Linked DNA regions of Homo sapiens: regions 1, 2 and 3 are each linked to region 4. Evidence: promoter capture Hi-C in 16 types of primary human blood cells and fetal thymus (Javierre and others, 2016). All regions are on one chromosome and are shown on one strand. Each heading gives the region's core, a stretch centred on a gene start or on the middle of the fragment in contact. The rest is flanking DNA. Distances are from core to core; before and after follow the strand shown.

What was found. Contacts are between HindIII fragments. The CHiCAGO score rates a contact against its expected background, and 5 or more counts as called.
Region 1: a fragment that was not itself captured here is called in contact with the fragment with the promoter of LRRC4C in region 4 in 1 of 17 cell types (M2 macrophages); the score reaches 7.5 in M2 macrophages.
Region 2: a fragment that was not itself captured here is called in contact with the fragment with the promoter of LRRC4C in region 4 in 1 of 17 cell types (M2 macrophages); the score reaches 7.3 in M2 macrophages.
Region 3: a fragment that was not itself captured here is called in contact with the fragment with the promoter of LRRC4C in region 4 in 3 of 17 cell types (M2 macrophages, megakaryocytes and M0 macrophages); the score reaches 11.5 in M2 macrophages.

What each region holds. Positions count from the first base shown.
Region 1 is chr11:42,548,619-42,553,302 of GRCh38, reverse strand. No RefSeq gene overlaps it. Among named protein-coding and RNA genes, the nearest start is that of LINC02740, 300 kb to the right of the region's middle. The HindIII fragment of the contact is 285 bases long and covers 2,955-3,239 here.
Region 2 is chr11:43,291,636-43,296,204 of GRCh38, reverse strand. No RefSeq gene overlaps it. Among named protein-coding and RNA genes, the nearest start is that of API5, 18 kb to the left of the region's middle. The HindIII fragment of the contact is 4,872 bases long and covers 650-4,569 here.
Region 3 is chr11:42,499,102-42,503,998 of GRCh38, reverse strand. No RefSeq gene overlaps it. Among named protein-coding and RNA genes, the nearest start is that of LINC02740, 250 kb to the right of the region's middle. The HindIII fragment of the contact is 2,753 bases long and covers 1,190-3,942 here.
Region 4 is chr11:41,458,313-41,462,754 of GRCh38, reverse strand. It overlaps LRRC4C (leucine rich repeat containing 4C), which reads left to right and starts at 3,103. Exons shown (of 7, transcript NM_001258419.2): 1 at 3,103-3,324. The HindIII fragment of the contact is 6,701 bases long and covers 2,074-4,442 here.

The DNA.
Region 1 (4,684 bases), core at 1,848-4,347, 1.1 Mb before region 4:
AAATGATAAGAGCATGAAATACAGAAAAGTTAATATTGAATTACAACGCAGCCTCTAATACTAAATTTAAAATCATTTTCTTGTTTTCAGTAAACTTTACGTTTTTTCTCATGTGTGATATTTCCTTTGCCAAATGACCTTCCATCGGATGGAACCACATGAGATTGCCAATATCTAAGTGCATCAGTCAGGGTTCAACCCAGAGAAAGAGAACCAACAGGATGTATAAATTTAAAGATTTATTGCAAGGAATTGGCTCATGTGATTGTGGCGGCTGGCTAGGCAAGTCAGAAATCATAGGGCAGGCAGCCAGAAAGGGCAAGCTGGAACTTTCAGTACAGGCTGAAGCTGCTGTCCATAGCTGGGATTGCTTCATCAGGGAATCTTAAGCTCTGTTCATAAGGCCTTTCAACTGATTAAATGAGGACTATCCAGAATAATATCCCTCACTGAAAGCCAATCGATTATGGACTTTAGTCATACTTACCAAGTATCTTTGCAGGACACCTATGTTAGTGTTAGATGGAATAAATGGGGGTTGTAACCTGTCAAGTTCACTCATCAAAGGACCATCATATGAACCTTTCTGGACCACTAGACAAAGCAACTAGATGTGGTTTGACTGAATTGTTAAACACAACTTCCAAGATTCTTCCTATATCTATATAACTTACCTATTTTAGGACTTAAAAAATGCTTTGAAATTACCTTGGACCCATCAATGGGAAGACATTTGATAGCTTCTTAGATTTTTCCATGGCCCTGAATCATATTAGAATGTTTATTATTATTCCACATGAAAACCGTTCAGTTTTTTGAAAGGCTGCCTTTAATTAGTCTTCTCTTCTAGACATGACCAGCTTCATTAATTGGGCCTCAAGGGAAACCTTTATGGTGGTGACTAAGAACATGGCTTTTGAAGACAAATGAGAATTCAAAACCACTATCTGTTCTCTGTAACATAAGTTACCTTGGACAAGCCACTTAACCTTGCCTAATTTTACATTTCTCACCTATACAGTAGAAATGTTAATACATACCTTATAAAGTTGTCATGAAGATGAGGTGGTGTCTTAGTCCAGATTTACCCTAGAAACAGAACCTGAGACAAGGGTGTATGTGCAGGTGGATTATTTTCAGAAGTGACCACGAGAATTTGGACTGTGAAGAGCAAAACAAGGAAAGAGGAAATGCTAGTTCAAGGTAAATTCTTGTTCCCATACCTACTAAAGGCAGCTGGGAGTTGATCCAATAGAGATCCTGCTAAGTGCCCCCCAGGATTTCCTGCTTCAAGGAAGAGGGTAGTGTTTATCCTCTAACTCCCACCTCTCACTGGACATAGGCTATTAACTCCTTCCCATTTCTTAGTTGCCTCAGCATCTCACATCGAAATATTAGAGGAGATTTGTGTTGCATGATGAGCCTGAGATGAGGTACTATCAAGAGGTTGTACCTGCATGCAGCTGTTTGTTATGGTAAGAGCTGGAGTAAAAATGTGAGAATAGGATACAAGGGAGGGTAAACTGGTGCTTGAATCAGATGAAGTAACATGTGCAAAGTGTTCAGACTGGTAGCCAGTATATAATAAGCACTAAATAAATGCTAGAATTTGAAAATACAGTAATAAGGTTGATGGCAACAATAATGATAATAGTGATAAGTATAATAATAAATGCCATGGTTTTCAGATCACCCTGTTTTTCTGCTTCTAAAGACATGCTCATGGTTATAAATCTCCTTAAAATGCATTGCTTAAAACAGAATTAAATACTGCAGATTAGTATGACCAGCTCAAGGTAAAATGGGATTAGCACTTTACTTCTTGTGACCATATGAATTCATATTATTTCATCTATGATTACTATTTTGGCAATAGTGATACACTATATTTGTTACTTATTTTGAAGTTCAAATAATCCTTAATCTTTTTTTCCAAAACAAATATATTTTAAATATATTCCATAACTGTCTTAGTTTTTGAACCTCTATTCAGGATTTTATGCTTATTTTAATATATATGGAAAATATTATATAGTAAAACAATGATTGGCTTTGAATTTTGTCTTTGCCATTCACTAGCTATCCAATACTGATAAATTAACTGAGCTTTTTTAGGCCTTTGTTTCTTGATCTGTAAAAAGAGAATAATGTTGCCTGATTTATTAGATTATTAATATATGAAATCATATATCATTTGTATAAGGTGCATAAATAAATATGTACTAATTTTTGTTTTGCTTTCTTTGCCCTTTATAGTTCTGGCATACTATTTCAGTTTCACCAAGGCCATTTTAAATTTTGATTTGTCATATAACTTATTAAGTTATTCATTCCAGGTTATTATTCACAATTTTGTAAGCAAATTCTTTATGTTTTAATTGATTTTCAAGACAGTTCTAAATCCAGTGTCCCTTTGTTTCAAGGATAATCTTCACCTAATTTGATATACATGAACTTTTCTGGGATGCCTCTATTCAGGCCAGCTTTGGTTTCATGTTACTCTAAATTCTCTCATTTTTTTCTATTTAATTCACAATAAAATCATAGGATGGTATCTGTTAAATACCTTACAGAAAGTCTAGTGCATTTTTACTATAGAGTTTGTATGCCCCTAAGCCTTGGAATATGACAATAAAGAAAGCAATAATTTCAATTATTTCCTCATCTTGAACCAACCAAATCTCAACCTATATTTACATACACAAAACGGCCCAGTTATTTTTTATTTTTAAATAAACAATAAGCTGACTTGGCAGCACTCACAAGAATAAATTACGAAGCAAATTTTTGACCCAAATTCTGAGAGTTAGACTTCTCACAACAGGTAATTTTTTGAGGGAGGATGGGGGATATGGTTTTATACATTACTCTTTACACAGTCCTGAGAAACTTTGAAGATCTAGCTGCGCTTCTTGGATTAACAAGCCAAGGTACCAGCTTCGCTAAGGAAAGCTTGGTGAAAATGTCAGTATGGGCAATGAAAAATAGCAGTTTAAAACTTCACAATCTTAAAATAGATGCTAGAAAATGTCAACGCTGTAAACAATTGATTGCCAGCATCTAGTGTTGCCTGACGTACTTGAGTCAGTACGTTTCCAGCATCAAGGTTATGAAATTTGCAGATAGTAAATCTATATTATTTACAGCAAAGGACACACCTGTATTATTCTTGTTGTTTTTATTTTGCTGCCAAGTGTTGAGATAAATCAAGGCCCTTATACTCTGAGTCAATAGAAGCTTTATTGGCTTTCAATCATCAATTCTCGCTGCAGCAGCTGGAAAAATAAAAGTGGTATCTGTGGTTAGAAAAAGAAGAGTCTTTTTCTTTGCTTTTTATCCTCCTGTGTAGTTTGAAGGCATTTAAAATCACCATGTCATAATGGAACAAGTGTGGATCTAGCTAGAGATTGCTGAGCCATGGCATTGAGGTGGAAGTTAAGGCAGTGAAGTGAACCGGGAGGTTTATTGGATCTTCAGCATTTGCAGATGCCAATAGCTACATCAGGACCAGCATCCCAACAGCTATAGGATGGAGCACCTTCAGGGGTTACCTGAAAGGGCAATAGACAAGTATAATGATTTGACCATTCTCAGATCCAGGGTGATGTAGCACAATTTGCCATTCTACTGTCTCTGTGACAGTCTGTAGTGAGCCTTACTTTCCCTAAGACACGGACAGTTTCTCTCCAGGAATAAATAGAGAGAGGGCCAAATAGAAATTATCTTTCTTTAAGGGATAGACAAAAAAAATGGATCAATGATTCCCAATAATAGTAATAATGCTTAATGATATTCAAGGTTGAATTTATTGATTTTTGAATTTACTATGTGTCTGTGCCGTATGAGAAGGGTGCAACTCTTATCGTCTTTCTCCACATAGGGAAGCTAAGGCTGACGGAGGTTAAGTAATATTGCCCCAAGTGATAAGCTACTGGGTGGTGCATTGAGGATTTGGATTCAGATCTAACTGTAGCCCTATTGTCTATACACTGATGCATAAAGCTAAGTGAAAGAGACTTTTCCAAACCACACCATCAACCATGAGAATTATTTTAGTCTCCTCAGTACATTTTATTTTGTCTTGTACATTGTGCCTTCTTTGCTTGCCTCCTGCCTTGTTGAAACACCTAACTCCCATTTGGCTCTCAGTGGCTGTCTGTTAAACACTACCCCTTCTTAGAGGCCTTCCCTACGTCCACAGTTTAGGTCATGCCACTTTTTTGTGGGCACCTACAGAATCCCAGACTTATCTCCAGTATAACCCTGATTACTTGCTGTTCTTCATGAGATTCTGAGGCTCTCAAAGGCAAAGGAATTTATATTTCATGCTAAATCTCCAGGGCTTAGCAGAATTCCTAGAACACAGTGTATACTTTGAAAATGGTAGTCAAATGACATGAATTAGTAATATCATGACCAAATCCTTCGTTTAATATAGGCTTCCTTCTCTATTTTGAGAACTTTATATATATGTATGTATGCATATATATATGTATATGTATATTTGTTTTCATATGTTACATGTGTTTATGTGTGTATTTGACTTCAGCATTTTATTTTCTATCTATTTTGTTCTTTTAGTGACTTTTGCTAATTTCATAAAAGGGAGTCAGATGAACGTACAACTGAAACCCAGACAAAATTAGTTGTTTAATGATACTAGACCACAACAACAAAATAAAAC
Region 2 (4,569 bases), core at 1,836-4,335, 1.8 Mb before region 4:
TTTTTAATGCCTGAATAGTATTCCGTTGTGTACATGTACCACATTTAAAAAAATTCATTCATTTGTTGATGGGCACTTACGTTGATCCCAGATCTTTGCTATTGTAATAGTGCTGCAATAAATATGCAAGTGCAGGTATTTCTTTGACATACTGATTTCTTTTCTTTAGGATTGATACCCAGTAGTGGGATTGCTGGGTCATATGGTAGTTATAATTTTAGTTTTTTGAGAACTCATACTGTTTTCCATAGGGGTTGTAATAATTTACATCCCCACCAACAGTGCATAAGAAATCCCTTTTCTCCACATCCTTACGAGCATCTGTTTTTTTTTGTGTTTTTAATAGTAACCATTATAACTGAGGTGGGATGATAGCTCATTGTGGTTTTGATTTTCATTTCTCAAATGATGTTGAACATTTTTCATAGACCTGTTGTCCATTTTTATGTCTTCTTTTGAGAAATGTCTATTCATGTCCTTTGCCTACTTCTTAATGGGATTATGTGTTTTTTAACTGTTGAGATGGTTGAATTCCTTGTATATTCTGGATATTAGTCTCCTGTTGGATGAGTAATTTGTAAATACTTTCTCCCATCCAAAAGGTTGTCTCTTCACTCTGATGATGTGTCTGTTTTGCTGTGCAGAAGCTTTTTAGTTTATTATAGTTCAATTTGTCTATTTTTGTTGCCTTTTAAGGTCTTAGCCATAAAATCTCTACCTAGACCATGTCTTGGGGAGTTTTAAAAATATTTTCTTCCATTCGTTTTATAGGTTTGGGTCTTAGATTTAAGTCCTTAATCCATCTTGAGTTCACTTTTGTGTATGGTGAAAGATAGGGATCAAGTTTCATTCTCCTGCGTATGGTTAGCCAGCTTTTTCAGCACCATTTATGGAAAAGGGTGTCCTTTCCCCAGTGAATGTTATTGGCAGCTTTGTTGAAGATGAGCTCGCTGCAAATATGCGGATTCATTTTTGGCTTCTCTGTTCTCTTCTGTCAGTCTATGTGTCTATTTGTGTATCAATATCGTGCTGTTTTGGTTACTGGAGCCTTGTAATACATTCTGAAGTCAGGTAGTGTGATGCCTCCAGCTTCATTCTTTTTGCTCAGGATTTCTTTGGCTATTCAGGCTCTTTTTGGTTCCATACAAATTTTAGAATTTTTAAAATATTTCTATGAAAAATGATGTTGCCGTTTTGATAGCGATTGCATTGAATCCCTAGGTTGCTTTGGTCAATATGGTCATTTTAACAATATTAATCCTCCCGTTCCATGAGCATGGGATGTTTTCCCACTTGTTTGTATTCTTTTCAATTCCCTTCATCAGAGTTTTGTAGTTTTCCTAGTAGAGATCTTTCATCTCCTTGGTTAAATATATTCCCAGGTACTTTTTTTTGTTAGCTATTTTAAATGGGATTGCCTTCTTGACTTTTTTGTCTTTTCATTACTGATGTATAAAATGCTTATGATTTTTGTATGTTCATTTTGTATACTGCAAATTTATTGAATTTATCAGTTCTAAAAGTTTTCTGGTGAAATCTTTTATGTTTTTCTAGATAGAAGATCGTGCATCTGCAAAAAGGAACTTTTTTTTTTTTGAGACAGAGTCTTGCTCTGTTGTCCAGGCTGGAGTGCAGTGGCACAATCTCGGCTCACTGCAAGCTCCACCTCCTGGGTTCATGCCATTCTCCTGCCTCAGCCTCCCGAGTAGCTGGGACTATAGGCACCTGCCACAGTGCCTGGCTAATTTTTTGTATTTTTAGTGGAGACAGGGTTTCTCCGTGTTAGCCAGGATGGTCTTGATCTTCTGATCTTGTGATCCACCAGCCTCGGTCCCCCAAAGTGCTGGGATTACAGGCGTGGACCACTGCGTCTGGCCAAAAGGGAACAATTTGAATCCCTCTATTCCAATTTGGATGCCTTTTATTTCTTTTTCTTGCCTGATTTCTCTGGCTAGGATTTCCAGTACTATGTGAAATATGAGTGGTCAAAGTAGGCATCCTTGCCTTGTTCCAGTTCTTATGGAAAAGGCTTTCAACAAATTCCCGTTAAGTATGATGTTAGCTGTGGGTTTGTCATATATTTCATTTACTATTTTAAGGTATGGTCCTTCTATGCCTAGTTTGCTTAGAGTTTTTATCATGAAGAGGTGTTGAATTTTGTCAAACGCTTTTCTGCATTTACTGAGATTATCATGCGTTTTTTGTCATTTATTTTGTTGATGCAATGTATTATGTTTATTGATTTGTGTATTTTGAACCATCCTTGCAACCATTATATAAATCCCACTTGATCATGGAATATGATCTTTTTGACATGTTGTTGGATTTCATTTCCTAGTATTTTGCTGAGGATTTTTGCATTTATATTCATCAGAGATATTGGCTGATAGTTTTCTTTTTGTGTGTGTGTGTTCTTGTCTGGTTTTGACATCAGGTTAATGCTGGCTTTGTAGAATGAGTCAGGGAGCATTCCATCTTTAATTTTTTGGAATAGTTAAAAAAGAATTGGTATTAGTTCTTTTTTGTGCATTTGGTAGTATTATGCAGTGAATCCATCCACTCCTGGGATTTTCTTTGTTGGGAGACTTTTTATTACTTATTCCATCTTGCTGCTGGTTATTGGTCTGTTCAGGTTTTCTCTTTATTCCTGATTAAATCTTGGTAGGTTGTATGTTTTTAGGAATTTATCCATTTCCCTTAGATTTTCCACTTTGTCAGTGTACAGTTGTTCATAATACTCTGACTTTTTTTGTACTTCTGTGGTATCAGTTGAAATGTCTCCTTTTTCATGTCTTATTTGTTTTATTTGTTTTTTTTCTTGGTTAGTCTAGTTAGTGGTTTATCAATTTTATGATCTTTTAGAAGAACCAGCTTTAAATTTTATTGTTCCTTTGTACTGTTTTTTAGTCTCTATTTAGTTCTGCTCTGATCCTTGTTATTTCTTTCCTTCTATCAATTTTGGGTTTGGTTTGTTCTTGCTTTTCTAGTTCTTTGTGGTGTATTATCATTCGATGGTTTATTTGAAATATTTCTGTTTTTTTTTCCTTTTATGTAGGTGTTTATTGCTATAAATTTCTTGCTTAGCATGGCTTTTGCTATGTCCCACAGATTTGGTATGTTGTATTCCCATTTTAATTTGTTTCAAGAAATTTTTTTATTTTCATCTTAATTTCTTCATTGACCCAATGATCATTCAGGAGCATATTGTTTAATTTCTAGGTATATGTATAGTTTCCAAAGTTCCTGTTGGTATTCATTTCTAGTTTTACTCTATTGTAGTCTGAGAATATACTTGATATCATTTTGATTTTTAAAAATTTGTTGAGACTTCTTTTGTGGCATAGTATATAGTCACTCCTGGAGAAAGTTCTATATGTTCATGAGAAGAATGTATATTCTGCAGTTGTTGGATAAAATGTTCTGTACATGTCTGCCTGTTAGGTTCATTTGGTCTAAAGTCCAGTTTAAGTCCAATTTTTTTCCCTGTCTGAATGATCTATGTAATGCTGAGAATGAGGTGTTGAGGTCCCTCACTATTATTGTATTGCTATTTCTTTCTTTAGATCTACTGATATTTTCTTTATGAATCTGAGCACTCCAGTGTTGGGTGCATATATATTTATAATTGTTATAGCCTCTTGCTAGATTCATCCCTTTATCATTAAATAATGACCTTCTTTATTTCTTTCTATGCTGTTTTTGGCTTAAAGTCTTTTAAAATCTGATATAAGTATAGCTACTGCTGCTCATTTTTGGTTTCCATTTGCATGGAATATCTTTTTTCATCCCTCTACTTCCAGTCTATATGTGTCTTTATAGGTAATGTGTATTTCTTACAGGCAGCATATGGTTGGATTATGTTTTATCCATGTAGCCAGTCTATGTTGATCTCAGCTGAGCTGGTTGCTCACTTCTTTCTCCTTCTGTGCCTCAGGTGTTTCCTGTAACTTCTCTGTTGGACTCTGGAGTTCTCTCCTGGATGTCCTATTAGAGGTGTGATTATTCATAATTTTGGTTCTTCATTCTGGAGAGGGTGAGTGTCCAATGTCTGTAGTCAGCCATCTTGAACCAGAATCCTCTAAATATAGTTTTCACATAGCTACATTGAATGCCATTTTGTTATAATTTATTTAATCATTCAAGTGTTATTAAGCATTTAGGTTGTTCTGTTTTTCACTATTATCAACAATGCTTGATGGGCATCTTTGCACATACTTCTTGCATTACATCTCTGATTATTTCTTTATGATAGATTACTATAAGTGGAATTACTTAAGAGAAAAGATAAGCTCATTCTTCAAGGCTTTTGGATCATGGTGCCAAATTGCTCTTTAGAAAGATTTACTACTTTCCTGTCCTGTCAAAGGGTTGTTCCAAGAAGACTTTTTATTTTATTTTTAAAATCTGAAGTAAAGACTTTCTTTCTCTTTGAGTTTTGATTCACAGACTTAATATTTCTGGGCAACTTCTCTATGTGTGTGTGTTTGCTGTTTCTGGAGAAGATGCCAAGATGGCGGCCAAAACACTGCCGTCTCTCTCTGAGTAGCCTCCTGGGACTAGCACTTTTGG
Region 3 (4,897 bases), core at 1,317-3,816, 1.0 Mb before region 4:
ACCATTGTACAGCTCAGGCCATTGCTTCAGAGGGTGCAAGCCCCAAGCCTTCATGGCTTCCATGTGGTGTGTGCCTGTGGGTACACAGAAGTCAATAATTGATGTTTGGGAACCTCCACCTAGATTTCAGAGGATGTATGGAAATGCCTGATGTCCAGAGAGGTTTGCTGCAGGGGTAGAACCCTCATGGAGAACCTCTGCTAATGCAGTACAGCAGGGAAATGTGGGGTTGGAGCCCTTACACAGAGTCCCCACTGAGGCACTAATTAGTGGAGCTATGAGAAGAGGGCCACTGTCCTCCAGACCCCAGAATGTCAGATCCACTGACAGCTTGCACTGTGCACCTGGAAAAGCCACAGACACTCAGTGCCAGCCCATGAAAGCAGCTGGGAGGAAGACTGTACCCCGAAAAGCCACAGGGACAGAGCTGCTCAACACTGTGGAAACCTACCTGTTGCATCAGTATGACCTGGATTTAAGACATGGAGTCAGGAGAGATCATTTAGGAGCCTTAAGTTTTAATGACTGCCCTGCTGGATTTCAGGCTTGCAGGGGGCATGTAGCCCCTTTGTTTTGGCCAATTTCTCCCATTTGTAATGGGAGCATTTACCTAATTCCCATACCCCCATTTTATCTTGGAAGGAACTAACTTGCTTTTGATTTTACAGGCTCATAGGCAATCAGAATAAATTACAAATTAATAGACAGACTTTACTTGTCTCAGATGAGATTTTGGACTTGGACTTTTGAGTTAATGCTGGAAAGAGTTAAGACTTTGGGGGATTGTTGGGAAGACATGATTGGTTTTGGAAACTTGACATGTGTCAGATGAGACTTTGGACTTGGTATTTTGGGTTAATGCTGGAATGAATTAAGATTTTGGAGGACTGCTGGGAAGGCATGATTAATTTTGAAATGTGAGGACATGAGATTTGGGAGGAGCCAGAGCAGAATGATATTGTTTGGCTCTGTCCCCACCCAAATCTCCTCTTGAATTATAATCCCTGTAATCCCTACATGTCTAGAGAGAGATCTGGTGGGAGGTGATTGGACCATGGGGGTGGTTTCTCCCATGCTGTTCTCATGATAGTGAGTGAGTTCTCATGAGATCTGATGGTTTTATAAGGGGCTCTTCCCTCTTCATTACTCACTCTTCTCTCTCCTGACACCATGTGAGAATGTCTAAGCTTGTTTCCCCTTCACCATCTGCCATGAATGTAAGTTTCCTATGGCCTCCCCAGCCATTTGGAACTATGAGTCAATTAAACCTCTTTTCTTTATAAATTACCCAGTCTAGGGCAGTTTCTATAGCAGTGTGAAAATGGACTAATACGTCTACTATATGATTTTTTGTTACTTTTGCTATACACACACACACTCATTGTTATTTTGTATATATGTGATTTTCCTTTGTAACTTTTAAGTTTTTGTAGTTTAAAAAAAGTAAGAAAAAGAAAACCCAATTTAGCTTATCAGAAGCTCTCATTTTGAGAGTACATGTACAATTTAGATTAATAAAAAATATAAAACGAAATTATGTAATAAATGAAGTTATCTTAGTAGTTTCCATTTTTCAAAATACAGTCATTCAACAGCAGCTGTCCATGGCCTAAAAATGTTTGGAAATTGCTGCTCTAATACAAATGACTCATTTTATGGTAGAAGCCAAAAAGGCAGAATAGTGAAATTACTTGTATCTATCTCTCCTGTTGAAAATGAGAAGAAGATTTAATGGATCTGTGAAGTAACTTAAAATATTTCCTGGAAAATACATTTAATAAGAAGAGAATGAAATTTACTACCTGTATCTTCCCACTGACTTCTTCCTGGTTATGTGCTTCTTTCCTCTGACTTCTGCTTTATTTTCCAGAAAAGAGCTAGTCCTACGAAGTAGCAGTGGGGAGAGTTTCTCCTTTATAGGTCCTTAGGTATATAATTAGGGGTAAATTTGCCATAACCAGATATGGACCACCTTAAAAGCAAATATGATTTCTAGTAATCTACACTGATTCTTTACTGTTATCATCATGGCAACAGAAGCCCATGATACAACAATGACATTACAGTAAAGAGAAAGACTGCATAAGGAGGACCAGTCAGCTCACTTGAAAGCACATGCAGGATTTTTGGCAACAGGGACACGAGTGTTATAAGGATGGTCCAGAAGAAGGGAGGACCTCTTTTGAACAGTAGATGTGAAGTAGGAGGGACAAGCTGCAAATCCCAGTCCTCAAGGCATATGATGCTTAGCTACAGTTATTCATTAACAGCACAACCTACTAATAAACAGAATATTTTGGAAACTTCTTTGTTTCTGTCCCTTTAGGCAAGGATATCTCTATGAAAAAACTGACAGAGCCCAGTTCCCTTGCCAGAATCCTGAATATTTGAGTCAAGATTCCAAGAACTCCTCATCTACCATTGCAAGTATAGGGACAATGTTGCATATCTCAGTGGAACAGCCTAAGATTTGAAGTCAATAGGAAACTGAGCTTGACATAGGATCTGAACACTCAAATATCAACACAACCTCCAGTCTTGTAAGTATCTGGAGTCTGCTCAACATATCATTTGAAGTATGGGCTACTTGCCTTTAACATATCTTTTCCTTGGCATGACCTACTTGGTGTTCTCATGCAATTGCAATCTTTGGAGGATTTATTTCCGAAAGTGGTCCACGGAGCCCAGCATTTTTCATGTTGAGGGGGCATTTCACTTTAAACTACTTTAAGTAGCTGGTGAATAATGTTGAACTTGTTGTAGTTGTTTGTCAGAATCCAAATTAGTTAAGATGTCAAGACAATTCAATTGTTTATCATTAAGAATTATATGCCTCTCAAGTTTGTCCCTAACTCTTCATAGCCTTCAAGAATCTCTATTTTGGGGCTTCCAGTGTCTCTTACCTAGGTCATTACAATGGCTTCCTCATGTCCTCTTGATTTTCTACCTCATCTCCCTATTATTTTCTCCAAAGTGCAGGCAGATCAATCCTTCTAAAAGGTAAACTTTATCATGCTTCAAGAATCTCCAGGGCTGGGTGTGGTGGCTCATGCCTGTAATCCCAGCACTTTGGGAGCTGAGGTGGGTGGATCACAAGGTCAAGAGATAGAGACCATCCTGGCTAACATGGTGAAACCTCATCTCTACTAAAAATACAAAAATTAGCTGGGTGTCGTGGCAGGCAACTGTACTCCCAGCTATTCGGGAGGCTGAGACAGGGGAATAACTTGGACCAGGGAGGCGGAGCTTGCAGTGAGCGGAGATTGTGCCACTGCACTCCAGCCTGGTGACACAGTGAGACTCCATCTCAAAACAAAAAGAAAAAGAAGAATCTCCAACTTACAACTTTTATACAATCTGGACCCTTTGGAATGGCATTCTGTACTAAATCTCCTGACTTCACTTTTGGATGTTTGACTGCTTAACAGGGTTTAAGGTTCATCTCTATCGTCCCCTCCTCCTTATATCTGGACAAGTTTATAAAAAATGTTTGATGTTTGCTCCTTTGGCAATGACAGATTTAAACCATGTAAGCACCTGTCCATGTGCCAAAATACTCACTGTGGTGGTTCCATATGTATCCATAATAAAAATCTCAAGCCAGTCTCTTTACATCATCTTTCAAGCCATTTTCAGACTATCTTGGGAAGCCCTTCCTGTTATCCCCCAAAAGTCTCATTATGTAATTAATAAACATTTTAATATCCTTTTGGTGAAGATGTGGTATCATCAGTCCTAACATCCAAACCAAATATTGGTTGTGGATCCATCCTATTTATTAGTATAACCATGAAATATACCAGGCTTTTCTGTCTAGTGCTTGCTTACATGTCCGTTTTCACTAACCCAGCATATGTCTGTTGATGACCTACTATATGCTATGTACTTTCTAGGCATTTGATAAATGATGGTGACAACATGAAGGTCCCTGTTCTTAAAGCTTATATTCTAGCACAGTGAAACAAACAATTAGTAAGCAAAGTAATATATAAATTTATATGGTGCTAATTATTTTAAAGAAAGAAAACAGTGTGATGTGGCATAATCTTAGCAGATAGAATTAGACTGGATTGTTTTAGAGGGATCCATTGAGAAGGTGGCATGTGACTTGAGCACTGTCAGCAAGAAGTTCTCACCTATGCAAATGTTTAGGATAAAGTCATTCCAGGCAAGGAGCATAATAAATGTAAAATCCCTGTGTGGGACAGAAGGAACTCGTGTCTTAGAAATAGAATAAAGACCAATAATGCTAAGCATGGAGAATAATTGAGGGAAAAACACTAGGTAAGGACTGGAGGGGTTAGGTAGGTACTAGATCAAAGGACCTGGTAAGCCATGCCAAGGAATTATAAGTTTTAATCTAAGTAGTTCAGTAGATAGCCAATGGAAGGTTTAAACCTTATCTGATTTGCTATTTAATACTCCTAGATGCTGGGGAAAAAATAAATTGCAATGAGTAAGAATGAATGCATAGAGAACAGTAAGTAGGTTTAGGGAAATAATTTCAGATGAGAGATGATGGCAGCATGGATGACAGTAATAGCATTGGGGAAGAGAAGTGGATGAACTTTGAGTATATATTTTGGAAACAAAGTAAAGAAGATTTACTCTTTTATTGACTGAGGGTGACATGAACCCTTTCTTTGGGCAGATGGAACATTTTATAGATCCTGAACACTCCTCTATAATCTACACTGGCTGTTTGATATAAATGTAACCCTCCTCTGCTGCCAGTCCTTCCTGCCTGACCCTATTGTGTTGGGCTCATACAGAATCCTGTACATACTTTTTATCACAGCACTTATCAGGACATATTGTAATTGTTGTTTCTCTAAGTAGGAAGTTAACAGGAAGTTAACGCAGTGATGAACACAGTGCTTGACACAGTGTTGGCATT
Region 4 (4,442 bases), core at 1,854-4,353:
ACATATATAAAGCAAGAATGCATATACAGTCATTCCTAGGTATTCATGGGGAATTGGTTCCAGGACCCCTCTGTGTATCAAAATCCATGATTGCTCAAATACCTTATATCAAATGGTGTAGTATTTGCATATAACTTATGCACATCCTTCATAAATCATCTCTACATAACTTATAATGCCTAATACAATGTAAATACTATGTAAATACTTGTTATATTGCTTTTTAAAATTTGTATTCTTTTTATTATTGCATCGTTATTTTTAAAAAATATTTTATGAATGTGGGACCATGGATACAGAGGGCTGACTGGGATGCATATAATAAACTTTTAAAAAGTGGCAAATGTTACATAACTATAGGTTTACAAAAACAAGATCAAACCAACTCTTTGTAAAAATAAATTTAAAAACACATCTTCAACACCGAAAGGATTGATTAAATCATTTATCTTCTTTAACTTGGTGGTCCACAAAGCCAGACACATAGTACAAATCAAGTATCTACTTTATTTATAAGACATTTGTAGCACTGATAGATCACTTACTATGTGTCAGGAGATATGGTAAGCACATAATAAATATTAATTCATTCCAGTCTTAACAATAATCCTACTGGGTACATATTAGTGTCCTGCTTTCAAGTGACATAGCAACCTGATTTCAAAGACATTTTTTTAAAATTAAAAATATAAAAAAAAAGAGAGAGAGACAAAGTGCACCCCCACCCCAATAAAAGACAAAGATGTATGACTTGTAGAGACTAATCACCCTATATAAGGAAAAATTAAAATTTGAACCTAGATCTATCTAAATTCCAAAGGCCAGTTTTTAACACTACATTTTACTGACAATTTTGCCAATTAGTGCTGCGAGGTGGTATGTACCCATTAGTTATATTTAAGTAACTGAAGGCTAAGATGACATGCTAGAGTCTTTTAAACATTTCACACATTAACATAAATAGAATTGATAAAGACCAGTCAAGAGTCTTTGTACATTCTACATATGTGTTGCCTTTTTTAATGTTTGACTCCTAAACATGAATAATTCTTTCAAACTAATTTTTATAGACTAATTGTATTCATCCAATTTACAAACTGTTTTGTAGTTTAATCTAGTAGCTGCTATATTACATACAATATGTTGATGCTATACTTTATAGAACAAAATAAAATCACTAATAGAAATAGTATTATATGCAAGTCTAATCTTAGTTAGTGGCACAGTGTTTTTTCCAATATTAATCATAGAAAATCTACCAGAGTTATGAAAAATGGTGATTTGAGAGGGATATTTGGAAAAATATAAAATGTAAGTTATTCTCTAAGTTCTTCTTTGCACCTTAAAATTTTGTAAAAATTCAATTTTTTCATATTAGTCCCATCAATTTTATTAAGATCTGTGTTTACTAAATAAGATTAAATTCTTGCCGTTCTTGGAAGAATTATTTTACCTGTGTTTTCTTTTGTGACATCTGCTGGCAATACCTGGTATTACACTGCACTATAACTCACCTTTATCTACCTTCTCCAACTGTCCAATACTTTTCCAGATAATAGCAATTTAATTCAACTTAAAGAATATAGTGAGTGTTCTGAACTAATGAAAAGGTATTTTAATATGAAACTGAATCATAGAAGCAGAAAATTTAGCCCTCTAGAGGCTGATAACTTATTTAGCATATTACACATGTATTTTAATTTCATTGCTTGGTACTAAAAGAGATGTATACTTTTTTTCTGAAAACTTTAAGCTCGTTTCAGGCAAAAATGTTATATATTATAATGCTTACGATGGACAATTGTCAACCAATCCCTCTAGTGACACTGTCCCACACAGATGTTCTCTACAATTTCATAGCTATGTGATTTAAAAGTGTACATTAAAGTAAAACTGTGCAGGTGTCAAGTCTAAATTCATGTTTAAAAATGAATGAACTGTACCTAAATTGCTATATACATCGGATCCATGGCTGTGAAGCAGAATGCATGAGCAAACTTTTTATATTACCAGGAATCCATTTATCTATAGTCCCATCAGTCAAATTCAGATACTTGTTGCCAGCTCCAAGCTTTATAGTCTGGAGCTGGTTTTTGAAATTGCTTTGTATTTCCATTTAACAGCCAGGGAAGCAGCATGTTAAAATTTTCCTCGGTCTCCTTGGATCCTATTTATAAAGCTAATTTGTCTCCCCAGACATTTTTTTTTTTTCTCTTTTAAATGCCAGTTCTAGGCTTCTAAACCATTAACCCCCCTTCTTTATCCCAAGCAAAATACTGTCACAGACAACGCCGTTGCAGGACAGTGATGATTCCGATGATGATATAGTTCTCCCAGGCAGGATACAAAACATTTCGTCTTCTGGCCGGAGATGGATTCACTGCCCTCCCTGCAGACACGCAGGCTCACACACGGAGCACTGGGAAGTACACATTTACTGTACTGCATGCCGACTGCCTTGAAGAAACTGTAGCTAACCACCTTATTAGTATTCTTGCCTCCACCGTGTCTCACTTGCAGCATCAGAGGGCTGAGCAAATGCAGTAGAACAGGGACAGACACAGCTCTGGCAATCATCTCAATGCAGGCTGCCGAATGTTGGGGGTGGGGGGATGCAGCACTTCGAGATTAATAACCTTGCCATAATCCGGGGCACCCTGCAAGCAGACACCTCTGCTGATTGACCTGCTACTGGCTTGATGCATCTGCCTGGGGGAGAGGGATCCGGAATCTACCTAGTCCTGGGGCCCCCCTGATTTTGGATGTTCATTTGATCCTTCACAGATCTGGGAAGGTAACAGCGAGCCGTACCATCTGCAGCACACAGCAGCTCTTGGAGGTTACTACTGACAGTTTTCATTACACTGGTTTGTGTGAGTGCGTGTGTTTGTGTGTGTTTGTGAGTGTGGGTGCCTGCTTTGCATGAAAGAGAATGTGTGAGTGTCCGTGTGTGTGTATGTGTTAGTGTGACAACCAAAGCAGGTATTTCGTACAGTAGGAGATTTCAACAACGTGACAATATTCTCTAGGCACTTGGGCTCACTGTCTGTAGCCCCCACCCCCCGCCTTTCGCCACCTCCTTGCTTCCCTACTCCCCCTTCTGCTTTTGCCTTTGATGAGTTTTTGGCTTACTTTTTGGCGGAGTCTCTTGGACACGTTTTTGCTGGTGCTGGAAGATCAGATACATGGAACCTTTGAAAACTGATTATTTTTCTCCGATATGACTTAAAAAAAAATAAAAAGAAGAAAAGAAAATAGAGTAGTGCACGGCAAGCTAGAGGATTGTAAATTTTCCTTGGTGAACTTTGAGGATCCATAAAGAAGGTAAGTCACGGGACTCCTCAGATCTCAGTTCTTGTTGTCTTGCAATGTTTGTGTTTTCCTGCTTGTTTTCGGAAATGTATATGCAGTTTATATGCTCATTTTTAGAGATTGGAATGCTCAGAAGAACTCAGTGTGTGGCATTTTGGGGCTATTTTTTATGCCAAGGAGGTTATTTCCATTTGTATAACCATCCCCCCATTCCTCTTACCATTTTTGTACCTCTCTTGTTTATCTAACATTTTCACAGGGAATTCTGAATATATGAAATATGGAAAAAAATAATTCCGCCTTTCTCCTGCCTTGCAATACTCTCTAAATTTGAGGAAAAACATTAATCAGAAAAGCGACTGGCAGAGGCTCTGAGTTAGAGGCAAAGTGTATCTGCTCAGAGACTGGGGGCTGGGGAGGTGGGGATGTAATCCGGACTTTCACGATAACTTAATAGTAGACTTCCCCCTCCCCATAGCTCTATTTTTTTCTTCTTGAATAGTTATATCTGCTCTAGAGAGTAGCGAATGCGTGGAATACAGAAAAGCTGCTTCACCAGCTCTTAATTGGAGCAAATGAGAACAAAGTGGAAATTGTTTAGTATTTTGAACCTCTCTCTTTTTGCACTGATTCTCTCGCTATTGCATCTCATTAACCTTTTGGAATGCAGTGTCCCCTGATTAAGACTAGTGTCGCTCATTTTGGAACATCCTCTTACCCTACATGGTCCCCCGAGAAGGGAATGTGCTTGAAAATTGCTCTTAATTGTCTATTCTTGGCTGTAAAAGCAAGTGGCATGAGGAATTCAGGTGACTTTAGTCAAACATCTTGCCTAACTCAGTCTCTTTAGTTTCCTGGTAGTTAACTGTGCCTTTCTTCACCCGCCCCCCTCCCCCCCACCACGCTTTTCCTTCAAAGTGAAACGCAGACAATATTTTACCTGTTTCAATCCCAAAGTTATTTAATTAAAGCAAAATATCATTTCATTGTGATAACGTCTGTGTTCCTGTGTCTTTTAGTATTTTTATCTCTGCATTGGCATCAATTAGCTTCACCCCAGGAGTAAGAATCACTTGTAAATAGGTTTCTAAAATGCTGAGACCTCACATGAAGGCAACAGAATCTTACTC